Regions from separate parts of the Homo sapiens genome. Here regions 2 and 3 are each linked to region 1. The links are contacts of gene promoters, found by promoter capture Hi-C in blood cells and fetal thymus (Javierre and others, 2016). All regions are on one chromosome and are shown on one strand. The core of a region is centred on a gene start or on the middle of the fragment in contact, and the rest is flanking DNA. Distances in the headings are between cores, read along the strand shown. Region 1 holds the start of RNF130 (ring finger protein 130). Region 2 has its middle 13 kb from the start of TBC1D9B. Region 3 holds the start of RASGEF1C (RasGEF domain family member 1C).

Evidence for each region. The method cuts DNA at HindIII sites, captures the fragments that hold promoters and counts their contacts. A CHiCAGO score of 5 or more calls a contact.
Region 2: a fragment that was not itself captured here is called in contact with the fragment with the promoter of RNF130 in region 1 in 3 of 17 cell types (M1 macrophages, M2 macrophages and M0 macrophages); the score reaches 7.9 in M1 macrophages.
Region 3: a contact is called between the fragment with the promoter of RASGEF1C here and the fragment with the promoter of RNF130 in region 1, in 8 of 17 cell types (M0 macrophages, monocytes, M1 macrophages and 5 more). The highest score is 11.7, in M0 macrophages.

Annotation. Positions count from the first base shown.
Region 1 is chr5:180,069,621-180,073,613 of GRCh38, forward strand. It overlaps RNF130 (ring finger protein 130), which reads right to left and starts at 2,139. Exons shown (of 9, transcript NM_018434.6): 1 at 1,836-2,139. The coding sequence starts at 2,082. RefSeq lists an enhancer at 1,813-2,520 and a silencer at 2,410-2,489. The HindIII fragment of the contact is 6,319 bases long and covers 259-3,993 here.
Region 2 is chr5:179,918,611-179,922,603 of GRCh38, forward strand. It overlaps a transcript of RNF130 not described here. Among named protein-coding and RNA genes, the nearest start is that of TBC1D9B, 13 kb to the left of the region's middle. The HindIII fragment of the contact is 1,203 bases long and covers 1,296-2,498 here.
Region 3 is chr5:180,207,553-180,211,545 of GRCh38, forward strand. It overlaps RASGEF1C (RasGEF domain family member 1C), which reads right to left and starts at 1,659. Exons shown (of 14, transcript NM_175062.4): 1 at 1,476-1,659. RefSeq lists an enhancer at 1-450 and a silencer at 1,575-1,794. The HindIII fragment of the contact is 1,452 bases long and covers 1,190-2,641 here.

The DNA of each region.
Region 1 (3,993 bases), core at 889-3,388:
ATTAAGGAACCGTTTAAACCTGTCAACAACCTTAAGAGATGTACATTTCATCATTCCATTTTACAGATGAGCAAACAGGCTAAATGGCAGAGTTACTTTTACAGTGTCACACAATGGACGTAAAGCACAGGCCTGACTCAGAACCTTTAATCCTACAATGCTGCCTCCCCACTGAGAGGGGAACAGGACTAATCTTCATCCATACCTCAATACACATGAGTTAGTTTCCAATACCCTTCTACAGAAACACCTAAAACAAGCTTTCTCAAAGACGGGGCTTTTGTTTGGGGTGACAGGCAAGCAACAAGTAGCTGAAGCACACGAACACCGTGGAGGAAGGATCTGAAGTTCAGACCATGGATTTGGGGTGCCTGATGGAACCAAGCCTCAAAGACAAACCACAGATTTCACAACACTGCAGAGGACCAGCTCTTGCTCCACAACAGCTTGCCTCCCCTTCCTCTTTCTACCCTTCCACGTGACCCTCACGGTTCTCTCCACCAGAAAAGAGGCTACCATTGTTAGTTGCCAGTCTGGCAACACTGTGCATCTCAACCACAGTGACTGGCACAGAGCAGGAACGCAAATATTTACTGAATGAACCCAAGACAAAAGTTGTTTCTACGGCCAAGCTGGGACCCTAACTGCCATTTTTAACACAGTAGAGATGAGATATGCACCTTAAGCACCTGATTACTGGTGTAAAACGGACTTTTCAAAGCCTAGTCTGAGTTGCGGACAGGCTACAGTAAAAGCCTTATGTGATTATTTTTCCCCAGCCAGACTGTCTCAAAGAAGAAAACAGCTTAGCACTTTGGCATACAAATACAGACCTCAGAGGGGCATAATATGTTAGTATCTTAAGAGTGTACAAGCAAATCATGACTTTATTTAGGTTGCCTACTTTAGGTCATCCTAACATGAACAGCAGTTTAGAAAAGAAAAATCCCCTCTCAGCATTCTCAGGGTGACAATGAGGGTGGGGATAATGGCAGATATCTCCCAAAAGTTCAGCGTGGGCCAAAACCCAAAAAATCATATTCCACGATGTGCAAAAGGTTTCTTTCAAACCATGACTAATAATTTAAACAAATACATGTTTACACCAAATAATCAACTAAACAAAGTCCTTGTTCATAGGAAAACATGACATTAAGCCGAATGGTTTCAAAGACAATTCTTGAAAATTTTACCTATTTCCCTTTTGGTCGGCACCCGTGACCTGAAAAGCCTTGGCTAGTAGTTCCGATTAGTGTCAGATCCTCATAATGTGACATTTTCAGGCGTCAAATTACAGTAAAACTACTAGGGCAAGAACAAGAGCCAAAAGCAACAGGGAAGATGTCCATTTTCCATTTACACCCCCCCCCCAATTTACCACTTAAGAAAAACGGCACGTTTTTATATTAGAAAAGGGCCGCATCCTTCCAGATCTAGCGCAGCCTTAAGTCCGTGATTTGAGGAACCTGCCGCTTCCAAAATACAGGCTGAGACGTCCTCCCCATGAAGTAGTTTTGCGCTCTTGCACCACCTCCTTTGTCTACGCTGTCCCTGCAAACTCCTAGCTCAATGCCCTCCAGCAAACGAGCTGCCTGAACGCAAAGATGACCGTTCCAAGTCTTTTTTAAAAGAAGGGAAAAACCCAGTCACGCTCCTGGAGCCTGGTTCCCACGGGAGCAGGCCGGGCTGTCCACGACGGAAGCCTCGACCCTGGCTGGGGCTGTCGGCCGGGCAGCGCGGGAGAGCCAGGGCCAGAGCCGGGGCCGGGAACCCTAGTCCCGCCGCCTACGCGGGATGCAGCGACCACCGCCCGCCGCCCCCGGGCCGGCACTCACCTCCGTGGAGGGGCAGCGGCGCCAGCACCTGGCCGCGGACCTCGGCCTTGGGGGAGTCAAGCCCGTAGCGCCCGCGGTCGATGCGAAACGTGAGCGGGGCGCCGCGGCCGGGCTCCTGCACCGTCACGTTGATGAGCGCCGTGTAGTACTCCTGGCTCGCGTTGTCTGCCCGTGCCGGCCACAGGCTGCAGGTCAGCAGGGCGAGCGCGGCGAGCCGGGCAGGGCCCGCCCGCCCCGCGCAGCTCATCGTCCCTCCGGCAGCCGCCGCTGCTCGCGGACCGGGCTCCGGGGCCGGCGCCTAGAGGCGGGGCGGGCGCGGCCCGGGCGGCGGCGGGAGCGCGCGCGCGCGGCCTGCGCGGGGCCGAGCCCGAGCGCGGCCCTCCTGGACGCCGCGGCCCCGCCGCTCGCCGCCCTCACGTCCACTGCCCGCCTGTGGGGACGCGCCCATGGGCCCTCGGCGAGGGCGGCGTCTCAGGTCGCACGCGGGCGTCTCTTCGGGGTCCCAGGAGGGTTGTAGAAGCGTGCCCCCTCCATCCCCCCGGGTCGGTCCCACCGAATGGGAGGCGCCTCGCAAGGACGCGGCGGGGGAGGGGAAGGGCGGCACGGGAGGAAGCGCCCCGAGGAGGGTCAGCGGAACACAAAGTCCCTCTCGCGCGGCTGCCGCCTGAGGCGCGTGTCCGCCGCCGCCCCGCCCCCCCGCTGGTCTAGCGGCAACGCGCAGGCCTAAGGCGCAGTCCCGCCCCGAGCGCATGCGTGCCAGGGCCTGTCCGCTCCCGCCCGCCTGCACGAGGGCCCGGGCAGCCGGGTCAGCCGCTGGTGCTGGTTGTTTCTCTGTCAGGCGTGATAGCCGCAGGGCGTGGAGCCCGGGAGATTTGCGAGGACGTATGGAAATGTGTGAGAACAGACTACAAAGGAAAAAAAGCCATAACTTTAAAAGAAATGTTTAAAATTAAATGTCATGAGATTTAACATTCACGTCATGCGGTTGACATCATGGATGGGGGATGTCTCTGGCCCGGACCTGCAGGGACACGAGTGGTTGGGAAAGACCTCTAGGGTAGCCGTCCCTAACCATTTTGGCACTGGGGGACGGGTTTCCAGGAAGAGAGTTTTTCCAGGGACTGAGGGAGTTGAAGTGGTTTCCGGATGAGGCTGCTCCACCTCAGATCATCAGGCGTTAGATTCTCGTAAGAAGTGGGCAACCTAGGTCCCAAGCATGCGCAGTTCACAGCCGGGTTCACGTTGCTATGAGAGTCTAATGCCGCCCTGATCTGACAGGAGGCGGAGCTCAGGCGGTGATGCTCACTCACCTCCTGCTCGCTTACTGGTTCCTCGAAGGCCCTGGGCCGGTACAGGTCCGCGGCCGGGCGGTTGGGGAGCCCCTGCTCTAGTGACTAGGTGAACTACTCCAGGGGCCCCCGGACCAGAGGGTTGCAGTGGGAACCCCCCCTCCACCTTCCGAAACGCGCGCGCGCGCACACACACACGACTCTCATTTTCTCTCTCCATGGCGTTTAAAAGATACACATCGCTATAAAGTATCAGCTAAAAGGAAGAATGGGGCAGTGCAGCCGAATTCAGGAACTTACAGGATCTTTGTGGGGAGGCGGAGGGGGAAAGTTTGGCGTCTTCTGACCAGCCAGGGTTGAGTCTCCTGTCTCCTACTGCGGGAAGTGGGTGGAGTCAGCTTTGCACAACCAAATGTTCTGAAAATCCGGAAAAGAGGTGGCTCCCCAAAAAGAAATTTGAGGCACTGTTTCCAGGAAAGGGTACGGATGCAGTGCAGGCTAAAACTTAAGATGCCCACCACTGGCCAGGCGCGGTGGCTCACGCCCGTAATCGCAGCACTTTGGGAGGCCTAGGTGGGCGGATCACGAGGTCAGGAGTTCGAGACCAGCTTGGCCAACATGGTGAAACCCCGTCTCTACTAAAAATAAAAAAATTAGTCGTGGTGATGCGTGCCTGTAGTCCCAGCTACTCGGGAGGCTGAGGCAGGAGAATCGTTGGAACCCGGGAAGCGGAGGTTGCAGTGAGCAGAGATCGAGCCACTGCACTCCAGCCTGGGCGACAGAGCAAGACTCCGTCTCAGAAAAAGAAAAAAGAAAGAAAACAGATGTCCACTATTGATGACTTGGCAGACATCCTTTACAATTTCTCC
Region 2 (3,993 bases), core at 647-3,146, 150 kb before region 1:
AACGATGCTATATTGAAGCTGCTCATTGAAAATATTTTTATAGTACGAAGACTATCATAAAGAAAAACAAAACAAAAAAACCCCCAAAGCCCTTGGTAAAAGGTAAAACACAAAAGCTGCTAAGACCTTTAAAATCTGCACCATTCTAGCCTCAAATGAGCGAAAACGAAATGCCGCTGCCCGCTCTCTGACAATGCTCCTGAAGCCTGTCCCCATCCGGGGCTCTGCAGGTTTCCTTCAGGCACACCTGTGTCTGAGGCGTTATTGACGCGTTAGGAGAAAAGACACTTTAGGAGAAGCTGCACGTGGAAAAATGGCAAGTGTTCACTTCAAACGTATATTCCACAGTCAGTGAGAACAGGGCAGGGGATTCACGCATCTGCTTCGTTTGCTGTCGGATCTGACCCTGGGCATGTGGAGACTGGGGTTCCTGTTCTCACAGCAAGGGTCTGTGCGCCTCACGCCCCCACAAAGCTCATGCCAATGAGAGGCAGACTCAACTCAGGTGTGTCCTTTTGCAAAGAGGGTGTGCAGATTAGTTTTATAAATTTGCCCATAGTGGTTCTGTACTGGGATTAGCAGTAAGATGCAATTTTCTCATCATGTTAATTCGATGTCATCCCAGGTGTGTGGGAAGATCCCACATGTCCCTGATGCCTGGGATGCTGGCCACTGCACCCTGTCCTGTAAGCCTGTCGGCCGGTGCTCATGTGCCTTCTTCATGCTGTGCTGGGGCTGCTGGAGGGGACTGGGCTGCACAGTGGACAGTGAAGATGGGTGCTTATCTGGTATCTGCAGCGAGAAGGGGGTTTGGTCTTCCCAATGAGACATTCCAGATCATTCTGTCTTTCACAACTGCTGGCCATCCCCCTGAAATCACTGTGCCCAGAGACACTGCTGGGCTGGGCTCCCAGGTGCCACCTCCCTATACACACACTCCCTATACTGACGGGTGGCCGAGTAGACGTGTTCACAGGCTGCAGGGACGGAGGGGCCTTCAGTGTTTTCGTGCTGACTTAAACACTTGTCACTTTACGTCATGCTCAACACGGAGGCTGGAAAACAGCGACGCAGACGGCTGCCTGGCCCCGCACACAGACCCGGCCCCACGGCCTGGGTCTCCCACGGCCCTGCCCTGGCAGGAAGTGGGTGGTCAGAGTCTCAGAGGAGATACAAAGGCAAGGCCTTCTCTCAACCCCCTTTAGAAGGGGCCCTTCAGCAGGAAGTAGAATAAGCGAGAGGGGAACATCCAGAGCCAGGTCAGGGAGCAGCACCTGTACTCCACGCGGGTAGGAAGCTTCTCCCACAGGGCAGTATGCATCGTAAGCAGGGACCACAAAAGGATGTTAAAAACCCCAGCTTCCCTGGTGCAGAACAGCATGTGATTGTTCAGAGATGCGTCTGCAATGCAACATTAATCCTGGGCCCGGCCTCTTCTCTGGAAACAGCCAGCCTTGCTGGGCGCCCACCTTCAATGATCAGCTTGGGCGGGTTTTCAATACCACAAGGCTCACCTGGGCAATGCTACTGTCCTCAAAGCCTCACCTTGGGGGAACTTTGCAAATTAACCCTGAACCCCAACCTGTGCTTGGAAAGTGCTGCCATTCTTCCAAAACGGATGCTGACAGGAGAATACAAAATAAGAAAGGTGATCAGAAATCAAATCACAAAAGCAGTGACCCCAACAGCCAGGCCATGTTTAAAATTCAGGTTTTGTTCTCATCATACATGTCCAAAGAAGGTTCGATGGTGGAGAATTCACTTTCATACACCAGACTCCGAGGGGACAAGGAGTTTCGATGAAAGAAGTGACCACCTGGAAAAGGAAGAAGAGAAAGAGACTTAATAGGTCACCAGGCTTGTGTTTCTCACATGGCTAGGAGGAAACAATGCAGATTATCTTTGAAGCATGACATTTTCTTAACTATCCTTCATAAGGGGCTCTTATTAGAGAGATACAAAAAGTGCGGGCATCCTTCAATTCACGCAGGCTTTAAGCATCTAAGTTCCAATCTTCGGATCCCCAAGAGACTAACCACTGGAGCTCCTCAAAGCAAAAGCTGCCTGGTGCTCGTAAAAGGGTTCCACTTAGAAACGTGAAGACTTCTTCCTGGGCACATGATCTTATGGAGGACTGCCCCCCAGCCCTCTCATCTGGGCATATATATTTATATATATATATATATTTTTTTTTTTGAGATGGAGTTTTGCTTTTGTTGCCCAGACTGGAGTGCAGTAGTGTGATCTTGGCTCACTGCAACCTAATATGCCTATGTTGATCCTTCCGAATTTTTTTCAGTCTTAGACTTTATCTACTGAATTCCCACTGTGGAAGATGAGGATTTTCTCCTAACCCCCGCACCCAAATTGCACATACTTTCCATTGCCCCAATATAATTATATTTTGATTTTAAAATTCCATAGTTACATTATTTGACTATCTGTGCTACTCAAAGCTGAGCTGTGCTTACATTTCCTTTTCTATAAAACTGTTTTTAAGCTTTACTGGGGTATAACTGACATACAATGAAAAGCACATGTTTAAAGTACATCATTTGGTGAGTTCTGACAGCTGTATAGGCCAGTGACACCGACACCACCATCAAGATAACGAACATATCCATTACCCCAAAGTTTCCTGGTGCCTCTCAATCCCTTGCCCTTCTTTCTACCCTACTCCTATTGCCAGGGAAACATAGATTAGTTTGCATCTTTCTAGAATTTTATATAAGTAGAATTGCATAGTATATATTGGCTCTTACAAATAAAGTTGCTAGAACATCTGTGCACATAAATTGTGTGAACATATGCTTTCACATCTCCTAGACCTGTAAATACTCAGAACTGAAATTACTGCAAAAACTGAACTTTTTCAGAAACTGCCAGGCTGTTCTAAGATGGTCCTGGCTGGGTGTGGTGGCTCATGCCTGTAATCCCAGCACTTTGGGAGGCCAAGGCGGGTGGATCATTTGAGATCAGGAGTTCAAGACCAGCTTCAACTACGTAGTGAAACCTTGTCTCTACTAAGATACAAAAATTAGCTGAGCATGGTGGCATGTGCTTGTAGTCCCAGCTACTTGGGAGGCTGAGGCAGGAGAATCGCTTGAACCCAGGAGGTGGAGGTTGCAGTGAGCCAAGATCGCGCCACACGCCTGTCATCCCAGCACTTTGGGAAGGCGAGGTGGGTGGATCACGAGATCAGGAATTCAAGACCAGCTTGGCCAACATAGTGAAACCCCGTCTCTACTAAAAATACAAAAAATTAGCCAGGCATGGTGGCAGGTGCCTGTAATCCAGCTACTCGGGAGGCTGAGGCAGGAGAATCACTTGAACCCAGGAGGCGGAGGTTGCAGTGAGCGGAGATTGCACCACCGCACTCCAGACTGTGTGACAGAGTGAGACTCCGTCTGAAAAAAGAAAAAAAAGGAAAAAGAAAAAAAAAGATGGCCCTACCGGCAGCCTATGGTAGTCTCAGCTCCTTTTCATACTCACAAACACTTGACATGGTCAGTCTTGGAAAAGTTTAGGCATTCTAGCAGGAGTGTAGGAGCTTCTCATTGTGGTTTTAATTTGCATTCTCTGATGACTAGTGACGTTGAGCATCTTTTCATGGGCTTATTAGCCAACCGTGTATCTTCGTTTGTGAAGTGTTTTGTTCAAATCTTTAGTCCATTAAAAAAACTGGGCTTTTAAAAAAAATTTCTTTTTTTAATTTTTTTTGAGACAGAGTCTTGCCCTGTTGCCCAGGCTGGTGTGCAATGGCGCCATCTCGGCTCACTGCAACCTCCACCTCCTGGGTTCAAGAGATTCTTGTGCCTCAGCCTCCTAAGTAGCTGAGATTACAGGCGTGGGCCACAATGCCCAGCTAATTTTTGTATTTTTAATAGAGATGGGGTTTCACCATGTTGGCCAGGCTGGTCTCGAACTCCTGAGCTCAAGCGATCTGCATCAGCCTCCCAAAGTGCTGGGATTATAGGCACAAACCACCACGCC
Region 3 (3,993 bases), core at 409-2,908, 140 kb after region 1:
GGCCCCACCTCTACCTGGTGGCCTGCGGGCTCCCCCTCGCCAGTCCCGCCCTGGGCTCCGCAGCCCGTCCCTCTCTCGCCTGCCCTCCCTCTCCTGCCCCGGCAGTGCGCCCACCCGCCGCCACGGGCAGCCTTTCGACGCCCAACCTGCAAACCGCCTGGGGGCTGCCCAGGACGTCCAGACCCTGTAGCGTCTCAGCTCCAGCTCCGCCCCCTCCTGCCCTCAGGGATCTCACCCGCGCTGTTCCCCCGGGCTACCCGTCCATCACAGGCTGGGCTCCCCGCTCAGGACAGCCTCCCTGACCAGACGAAGGCTCCGCCGCGCCCTGGTCTCCCTCTGCCCCAGTCACCCTACTGCATGTTCTTCCCAGCACGCATAAGATCTTGGCCATGTCCTTGCTTTTGCCTTTGATTTCTTGTTTGGTGTCCCCTCCCACACCAGCTAGTGAGCACTTACGGGGGCAGGCAGCAGGCGGCACACAGTAGGCGCTCAATGAATGTGGCCAGTGAGTGGACAACCCTAGCCCCCCTCCACCGGTCGCCTGCACAGTGGCTGCACTATGGCTGTTGGAGCCAGTCTTACCAGAGGTGGGACCCCAGCGTTGCCACTCCATGGTCCCGCCCCTCTCTAAACCTCAGTTACTCCACCTGCCTGGCAGGCAGAGCTTCCCAGGACTCTTCTCAGGCTCCCGGGGCTCAGAACTTCTGTCTCTCCCACAGCCCCAGGAGGCAGGAGATACGGGCCCGGAAGAGCTCCACCAGCACCCCAACTTCCCAGCTCTGTCTTTCCCACAGTTTCCCACGCCCACGCTGAGCATGGGGCGGCGTCGCCAGCACCCTTCCCCAAGTCCCCCCAAGCATCGCTTTCCCAATCTAAATACAATGAGTGGACCAGGTGGTCCCTTGATGCCGTCCGCTGTCACTGCGTGAGGGACACACCCAGGACTCCCAGCAGACCCCACTGTTCTCGCAGGCCCTCTGATAGTGGCGCTGGTCCTTTCCTCAAATCCGATCCCATCCTCAAGGGTGACAGCACCCTCTTCCCCCAGGCGCAAGGCCCTTTCCCTTCTGCACGTGCACCGGCAGGTCTGCTTTCCCGTCCCCATTTCATAGACGGGGAAACTGAGGTCCGGTGCGGGTGGAGGCTTTGGTCTAGGCTGGCTCTTCCTGCCACTCTAGCGGCTGAAAGAAGCTTGCTCCTCGCGCCCAGCAGGGGCTGGCGGCGCGCGGCAGAGCTGGGTCTCCCGCCAGGTGGCCGGGGGTGTGCCCTCAGGGTACCCTACCCGCTACCCCCGCGCCTCCAGTCCCGGCGGCCGCGCGGACCCCGCCCCTGCTGACCCCGGCGCACGCTCCCGCGCCGCGCGCAGCCTCCCGCCTCCCGCCGACCCCGCCGCGCCGCCGGCAGCCCTCCCCAGCCCCCGCGAGCCCGCGCCCTTGCCCGCACCGCCAGGTGTCCCTCGGCCGCGCACCACTCACCGGCTCCCGGCGCGCCGGAACTCCGGGCCCGGCCCATGGGCAGCTCCCGGTGCGAGCCTCGGCGCCGCGGACCGGGGCGCCGCCCGCCGCCGCCGCCGCCGCCGCCGCCGCCGCCGCCGCCGCCCGACCGCCCGGCTCCCAGCGCAGCCCGCACGAGCGCCTGGCGGCGGCCCCGGAGCAACGCGGCGCTGCGCCCCCTCGTGGCACTCAGGCAGCGCGGAGCGGGCGGGGCGCGGGGGTGGAGCTGCGGGAGCCCGCGGGCGGCGCTGCACACCAGGGCCCTCCGTGCCCCGGCCGCGGAGCCAAGCGTCCCGCCCTGCGTTCAGGCCTCCGCGGCGGCTGGCCCCCCGCGCCAGGACCACCCGCTCGGGCCGTCAGACGCTGCCCTCCCGCGCGCGGACCCTGGCGGACTCTGCGCCCCAGCTGCCCCAGCCTACACCTCACCTGGTGGGCCTCTGGCGCCCCAAAACCCAGTTCACCCTCTCTCCTCAAGACTGGGCCCGGCCCGGTTCTCTGGACTGGCCACCTAGGTTGTCTGTGTCCCCCAATGGGACATCCCTGGGTGGACACCCCCCCTCCCCAACCTTCTCGGCGCTCTCCCGTGGCCCCCAGGGAGGGTGGACACCACTTTGAAGACACCGGGGTTCTGGGAGGATGGCGATGCATGATTTCACTTTTAGAAAGGGAGAGGGGCTCTAACAGGATCCAGTGGCCTCCTTGAACTGGGTCTTCAGTGAAAAGTTCCCTGGTTGGTCCCAGCATAGAGGTCAGGACACCTGTCCTCCTGTGTCCGCAGTTTGTCCCTTCCGCTGGGTTCCTGGTCTGGCTGACTTCAAGAATGAGCCAGGGACCTTGGCAGTGAGTGTTACAGCTCTTAAAGGTGGTGCGACGGTGAAACCCTGTCTGTACTAAAAATACAAAAAAATTAGCCAGGTTTGGTGGTGGGCGCTTGTGGTCCCAGCTATTCGGGAGGCTGAGGCAGGAGAAGGGCGTGAACCCGGGGAGGTGGAGCTTGCAGTGAGCAGAGATTGCACCACTGCACTGTAGCCTGGGCGACAGAGCAAGACTCCATCTCAAAAAAAAAAAAAAAGAAAAGAAAAGAAAAAGGTGGTGCAGACCCAAAGAGTGCGTAGCAGCAAAATGTCTTGTGAAGAGCAAGAGAACAAAGCTTCCACAGCAGGGAAAAAGACCACAGCCGGTCGCCGCTGTTGCTGGCTGGCGAGGGGTGGGCGGGCAGCTTTTATTCCCTTATTTGTCCCCACCCATGTCCTGCTGATTGGTCCGTTTCACGGAGTGCTGATTGGTGCGTTTTTACAGAGTGCTGATTGGTGCATTTACAATCCTCTAGCTAGCCAGAAAAGTTCTCCAAGTCCCCACCCGACACGGAAGTTCCAGCTGCCTTCACCTCACTCTGCTTTAGTCAGGACCTGCCTGATGAGATGTGGCCCAAAACTCAACCCAACCAGCTTGAGCAAAAAGCTGGTTTGTGGATCATAAAAAGCCAAGGTTTACTGCTTAGAGGAATGGCTAGATCCAGGTACTTAACCTATGTGCATAGAAACTGGCCTCCCCTATCTCCCAGTCTTTCTGTGGCAGAATGGCCCTGGGTTGACACCTCAGAGAGGGCACAGCTGCCTGATAGTTGCAAGGACAGCCTGCGGCTGCCACACACAGGCTCCGAGGAGCTGAGCTCAGGCCATTTCCAAAGACCTAGGGAGCAGGAATAGCAGGCCTGGGTGTCGTCTCACTAGAGCTGAGGCAGAGTTAGTCCTGTGTCAGCTTTGAGGATGGAGTAAGGTGCTGTTCCAAGCTTCCGTGAAGGCTGTTCCTGGAAGAATGGACAGGTTAAGAACAACAGTCCAGCCCATTTCTTGAACAGTTAGGGAAACTGAGTCCTGGAGAGAGCAGGCAGCTGCCTAGGGCATACAGATGTATTAGAATGAATGTGGGCCAGGTAGCTAGGCAGGGAGACAGCAGGGCTGGGGCCAGGGCCAGGGCCAGAGGCTGGCCCTAGGGAGGGTGACATCTGAGACCAAGGGTCAGGTGTGGGGAAAGGGAGGAGGAACAGAGGCAGGCACTTGGTCAGGGGTGAGCAGTGTGCTCCCAGCAGATAGACAGATGCGCCTCAGGGTGCAGGCACTGGGCCCTCCCTGCATCTTCTCCGATTATCACCCTATGCCCCTAAGCCTCAGGTCCAGTCCCAGGGTGTCGCCTGGAGGAAGCCAGGAGTCTAGGAGGAGAGGCCGCAAGAGGCACCTCAGAAGAGCTGACCCACTCAGCTGTGTTGTTCTGGGGTCTGGGCAGCACTGAGCGGCCCTCCTAACCAAGTGCAGGTCAGGGTGGTGAGGCCAGTCTTTCCCCAGCTCACCCTTGCTCTGTGAGCAAAGGCTGCTGTCCCCTGATAAAGAACTTTCTCCAGCAAGTGGCTGGGGCCACTGAAGCATGATTGCCCTGCTGGGAGCAGGGTAGGGGATGCTTGGATGAGGCCAGGGCAACTGGAACATGGGTGTGGACTAGC